Regions from separate parts of the Homo sapiens genome. Here region 2 is linked to region 1. The links are contacts of gene promoters, found by promoter capture Hi-C in human tissues and cell types (Jung and others, 2019). All regions are on one chromosome and are shown on one strand. Each heading gives the region's core, a stretch centred on a gene start or on the middle of the fragment in contact. The rest is flanking DNA. Distances are from core to core; before and after follow the strand shown.

The links. The method cuts DNA at HindIII sites, captures the fragments that hold promoters and counts their contacts. A contact is called where the count stands out against the background at its distance.
Region 2: a fragment that was not itself captured here is called in contact with the fragment with the promoter of TREX1 in region 1 in 1 of the 25 tissues and cell types used here (stomach).

The regions. Positions count from the first base shown.
Region 1 is chr3:48,464,780-48,467,479 of GRCh38, forward strand. TREX1 (three prime repair exonuclease 1) reads left to right here and starts at 1,451. Exons shown (of 2, transcript NM_033629.6): 1 at 1,451-1,530; 2 at 1,851-2,700. The coding sequence starts at 1,877. ATRIP (ATR interacting protein) reads left to right here. Exons shown (of 13, transcript NM_130384.3): 12 at 52-304; 13 at 708-2,700. The coding sequence ends at 775. ATRIP-TREX1 (ATRIP-TREX1 readthrough) reads left to right here. Exons shown (of 15, transcript NR_153405.1): 13 at 52-304; 14 at 708-1,530; 15 at 1,851-2,700. RefSeq lists enhancers at 677-766, 1,379-2,260, 1,847-2,046, 2,261-2,700. The HindIII fragment of the contact is 7,289 bases long and covers 1-2,700 here.
Region 2 is chr3:48,804,721-48,807,420 of GRCh38, forward strand. The region is part of intron 2 of PRKAR2A (protein kinase cAMP-dependent type II regulatory subunit alpha); the gene reads right to left. Among named protein-coding and RNA genes, the nearest start is that of PRKAR2A, 42 kb to the right of the region's middle. The HindIII fragment of the contact is 5,640 bases long and covers 1-2,700 here.

The sequences.
Region 1 (2,700 bases), core at 201-2,700:
GGTGCAGGCCATGGTGGCACCAGGCCTCAGTCTGCACCCCCCCTCTCTCAGGTGGTCAGAGCGCTCACGGTGATGTTGCACAGACAGTGGCTGACAGTGCGGAGGGCAGGGGGACCCCCAAGGACCGACCAGCAGAGGCGGACAGTGCGCTGTCTGCGGGACACGGTGCTGCTGCTGCACGGCCTATCGCAGAAGGACAAGCTCTTCATGATGCACTGCGTGGAGGTCCTGCATCAGTTTGACCAGGTGATGCCGGGGGTCAGCATGCTCATCCGAGGGCTTCCTGATGTGACGGACTGTGAAGGTAAGCCTGCCAGAGGCCATCCTGCCCAGCCCCCATGGCTTCTTCCAGAGGTTCCCCAACAAGTCAGATTCCTGGGTGTCCCCTCAGCAGGCCCCCGCCCACTGCAGCCTGTTCCAGCACTGGGGCCATTTTCTTTTATCTTCCTGCCTCAGTTCTTCTCCAAGCATATTGGGATGCCTTTTGCATCTATCTGTTGAGTGTGCCTGGCAGAGCCACGGTTTTTCCAGAAATAGCCGTGTCTGAATTGCCTTTGTATCACTTTGTTTGCAGTAGCTGAGGGAGCAGGGCCTGGGTGTGGAAGGGACTGGTTAGTTCCTGCGGACGTTGGGGGAGGAGAGGTGGGACCTGCCCTAGGCCCTGGCACCTTTGGGCCCTCACCAGGAACCTCTCCTTTTTGTCTCAGAGGCAGCCCTGGATGACCTCTGTGCCGCGGAAACCGATGTGGAAGACCCCGAGGTGGAGTGTGGCTGAGGCCCTGAGTGTCCAGCCACATGGTGGCACCAGCACCACTCCTTTCCTTACCACATCAACTGATTAAAGCAGTGACCAGCAGGAACTGCCCAGAGAACTGGCTGGCCTTGTTTCCTGAGTCTGATCTGTTTGGCGGAGTGGGAGGGGTGGAGCAGGACCCGGACCCTGAGTGGCTGGGATCCTTCTTCCTGTCCCTGGCTGTTGCTGAGCCCGTCCCCATGGTAACTGATCTGCCTTGAGGAAGGAGCCCTGCCCTGCCTGTGGAATTGTCCTGAGTCATTGCTTTGGGCTGGGGCCATGGGAAGAAACCATTGTGTGGCAGGGAAGGAGGTGGCTCTTGGCCCAGGCCTAAACCAGGAAAGCCTGGGAAACTGGGACCCACAGGTGGGCATGAAAGGGCCGCAGCAGGGGCTCCCAGCAGTGTGTAAGACCGGGAGCTGGTCTGGCACCACTGCCCTGGTCCTTCCAGCTGCCTGTCACTGGTATGATGGCCCCGGTGCATTGTGCCACCAGCAGGCCACAGCTGTGGATCTTGGAAGGCCTCTGGGGTCCCCCGGGAGCAGGGGAGTGGGTGTGGGGGGGAACGGATGGTGGTGAGAGGGACAGACCAGGCAGGCTGACGAGCAGGGCGGGCCTGGCTCACGTGGGCCTGTAGGCGGGCCCACGCCAAGTTTCACTTCCCGCCACTGCTGCCAGCGAGAGCCGCGGGAGAGTGTGCAGCCGAGTCACTACTGCCTGCCTGCCTGCCTGCTACGGTGAGTGTGGCCCCCACAATGGGATGGCGCAGGGCAGGAGGGCCATGGGTTCCCCCACCCCAGACTAAGGGGGCACTAGGGGAGGGGCCGAGTCATGTGAAGAGGGAGACCCTCTCAGACAGTCGAATGTGCTGGTCCCACTAAGGAAACCACCTCACCCTCTCCAACTTCCTGCCTGAAAATGGGCCCTGGAGCTCGCAGACAGGGCAGGATTGTGCAGGGAAGGCCTGAGATGTGCTTCTGCCCACCCCCTACCCCACTCCCTCCCCTTCGGATCTTAACACTGGGCACTCACACACCCACCCCATGCTCCTCTCCAGGCTCAGCAGCAGGTACGTACCCAACCATGGGCTCGCAGGCCCTGCCCCCGGGGCCCATGCAGACCCTCATCTTTTTCGACATGGAGGCCACTGGCTTGCCCTTCTCCCAGCCCAAGGTCACGGAGCTGTGCCTGCTGGCTGTCCACAGATGTGCCCTGGAGAGCCCCCCCACCTCTCAGGGGCCACCTCCCACAGTTCCTCCACCACCGCGTGTGGTAGACAAGCTCTCCCTGTGTGTGGCTCCGGGGAAGGCCTGCAGCCCTGCAGCCAGCGAGATCACAGGTCTGAGCACAGCTGTGCTGGCAGCGCATGGGCGTCAATGTTTTGATGACAACCTGGCCAACCTGCTCCTAGCCTTCCTGCGGCGCCAGCCACAGCCCTGGTGCCTGGTGGCACACAATGGTGACCGCTACGACTTCCCCCTGCTCCAAGCAGAGCTGGCTATGCTGGGCCTCACCAGTGCTCTGGATGGTGCCTTCTGTGTGGATAGCATCACTGCGCTGAAGGCCCTGGAGCGAGCAAGCAGCCCCTCAGAACACGGCCCAAGGAAGAGCTATAGCCTAGGCAGCATCTACACTCGCCTGTATGGGCAGTCCCCTCCAGACTCGCACACGGCTGAGGGTGATGTCCTGGCCCTGCTCAGCATCTGTCAGTGGAGACCACAGGCCCTGCTGCGGTGGGTGGATGCTCACGCCAGGCCTTTCGGCACCATCAGGCCCATGTATGGGGTCACAGCCTCTGCTAGGACCAAGCCAAGACCATCTGCTGTCACAACCACTGCACACCTGGCCACAACCAGGAACACTAGTCCCAGCCTTGGAGAGAGCAGGGGTACCAAGGATCTTCCTCC
Region 2 (2,700 bases), core at 140-2,639, 340 kb after region 1:
TGGGAATGAGTGGCTGAAGTAGGGTGGACAACTGGAGGACAAGATCCTTGGAGGAGAGGAGGTCAAAGAATGGAAGGCCAGACATTGGAAGAATCATCTATATGTGGAAATAAGAAGGAACAACCTGGGGATTGTTAGATGACTAAAACAAGGAGAAGCAGTGGCTGGTAAAATATAATAATGTTAAGTTTAATTTTAATTTTTTTTTTGAGATAGAATCTCACTCTGTCACCCAGGCTGGAGTACAGTGGAACGATCACAGCTCACTGCAGCATTGACCTCCCAGGCTCAAGCAATCTTCTTAACTCAGCCTCCTGAATAGCTAGGACTACATGTGTGCACCATCATGCCCAGCTATTTTTTTTTAATTTTTTGAGAGATGGGGTCTCACTGTGTTGCCCCAGCTGGTCTCAAACTCCTAGGCTCAAGCAATTCTCGCACCTCAGTCTCCCAAAGTGCTGGGATTACAGGTGTGAGCCACGATGGCCAGCCATAATGCGAAGTTTTAAGAAGCTTTCAGGGAGAAGGGAGAGAGAATGCTCTGGAAGCAGCCAAGAGAATCAATAGAGACATTCACCCATTTCCTGTCAGTGTTACAAGGAAGGTAGAAGAGGACAGAGCCATTGTTTGAGAAGCCTACAGGGCAAGCCAAGCTTCAGCTACAGCTGGAAAGTGAAAGCTGCACTGAGAGAACAGGGTGAGAATTTGGCGGATTTAGCTGAAGACTAACCAAGAGTTCCAGAGGGTGCAAGAAAGAATCTTAGAGATAGCAAGGGTGGTACTTAGGATCCATGCTACCTATGGGCATATGCTCACCTCACCTATTGCAAGTTACTTAACCTCTGCTTTGTTCCCAGTTTCCTTGTCTGTAAATTGGGGATAATCATGGTATGGGCCTCACTCAAAGTGTTATTTTGAAGATTATATTCAACAATACAAGGAAGGCATTTAGAAAGTCCTTATAACTGTGCACCTGGCACACGGTCTGCACTTAAAAAATGTTACGTATTATTAAAGGATACTTTCTCTCCTGTATCATCCTATTGAATTATTTGAAAAATCTTTTATTTTCATTTAACATTTCAATGATATGAAAAGGTTTTAAATCCTAAGATTATAAAATCTAAGGAGGAGGGATAATACCATGTACTTGTCTGAGTCTTCTACAAGGTTCAAGATTTGAACAACAATGGCAGAGGGCCAAACAAACTAACACCAACTGTGACCTCAGGAGGAGGTATCACTATAGTCTCCATCTCCCAGACCTATCCTACAGATGTCAAGGGATTTAACTAATCTTTCAGAGGAAAAAAAGGTGCAGGGCAGACATGAACAAAAATGGAAGATAATAGCTCATGGGTATCAAACTAACCTTAATCCCTACTCTCAGGATATTGACTCTCTTAACATAACATATTCTTCAACCTCCTTTCAACAGATTTTTATGTGGAATGATAAACGCTTTCTGAAAACATAAATGAGCCGATTTTCTCAAAGACAAGGATTGAGGGATAGAAAAGCAATTCCTAGCCCTATAATAGGCCAGATGACAATTTCAAATCAAGAAACCTTCCTAAAACAAGGAAATATGAAAGAACATACCATTTGCCTAGCAATTTTAAAACACATTAACATTCCACTGTACTCCCAAATAAATTCCAGAGTTATCAAAAAGTCAAACACTTTAAGAAAAACTTTCATAAAATATATTTACCAGCTCTATGGAAAAAAGGGGAGCCTTCTCAGGAACAATCATTGTTTTTTTTTTAAAAAAGATGATGTGCATATTCAATAAATATTTACTGAGTGCCTATGTGTCCAGCAGTGTTTGAGGTTATCAGTCATATATTAACATCTCTAACTCAATTAAAAAAATAGCATAACCACCTAGGGAAATTTTGCATTGAAAATTTCAAAAGGTCAAAAACTTGGATAGAAAGTTTACCCAAACTTATTTTTAAAATAATATGGACTATACCAGATAAAAGGGCAAAATATTACCAAACTAGTACCATATAAGAAAATACAAATAGATTTCTCATATTTGGAAAGCATTCTTTTTTTTTTTTGAGACAGAGTCTCACTCTGTTGCCCAGGCTGGAGTGCAGTAGCGTGATCTTGGCTCACTGAAATCTCCACCTCCTGGGTTCAAGTGATTCTCTGCCTCAGCCTCCCAAGTAGCTGGGACTACAGGGGCGCGCTACTGTGCCTGGCTAATTTTTTTGTACTTTTAGTAGAGACGGGGTTTCACCATGTTAGCCAGACTGGTCTCAAACTCCTCACCTCGTGATCCACCCGCCAAGACCTCCCAAAGTACTGGGATTATGGGTGTGAGCCACCGCGCCTGGACAGCATTCATTTTTTTAACAACCAAAAGAAATGCCATATAAAATGATGTGAAGTACTATTTTACATTTAAATTCCATATTATTAAGATAATGGTGGAAAAGAGGCAGGTACAGGGTGCCTTTCTCCCAGTAGCCTAATCTGTGGACTCTCTCTACAAAACAAGACAGAAAAAGCCAAGGCAATGCTCAGTCTCTGACCAGAGAATGCCACTTCCAGCACCAAAACTGAGGAAATAATTCAAGTGGCTCAAAAAGGTATATGTAAGAGTTAATGGCAGCATAAGCCAGAATACCAGAAAAAGGAATATGAAAAATCATTTTTTGAAGCTGTAATTATAAACATGAAAAAACA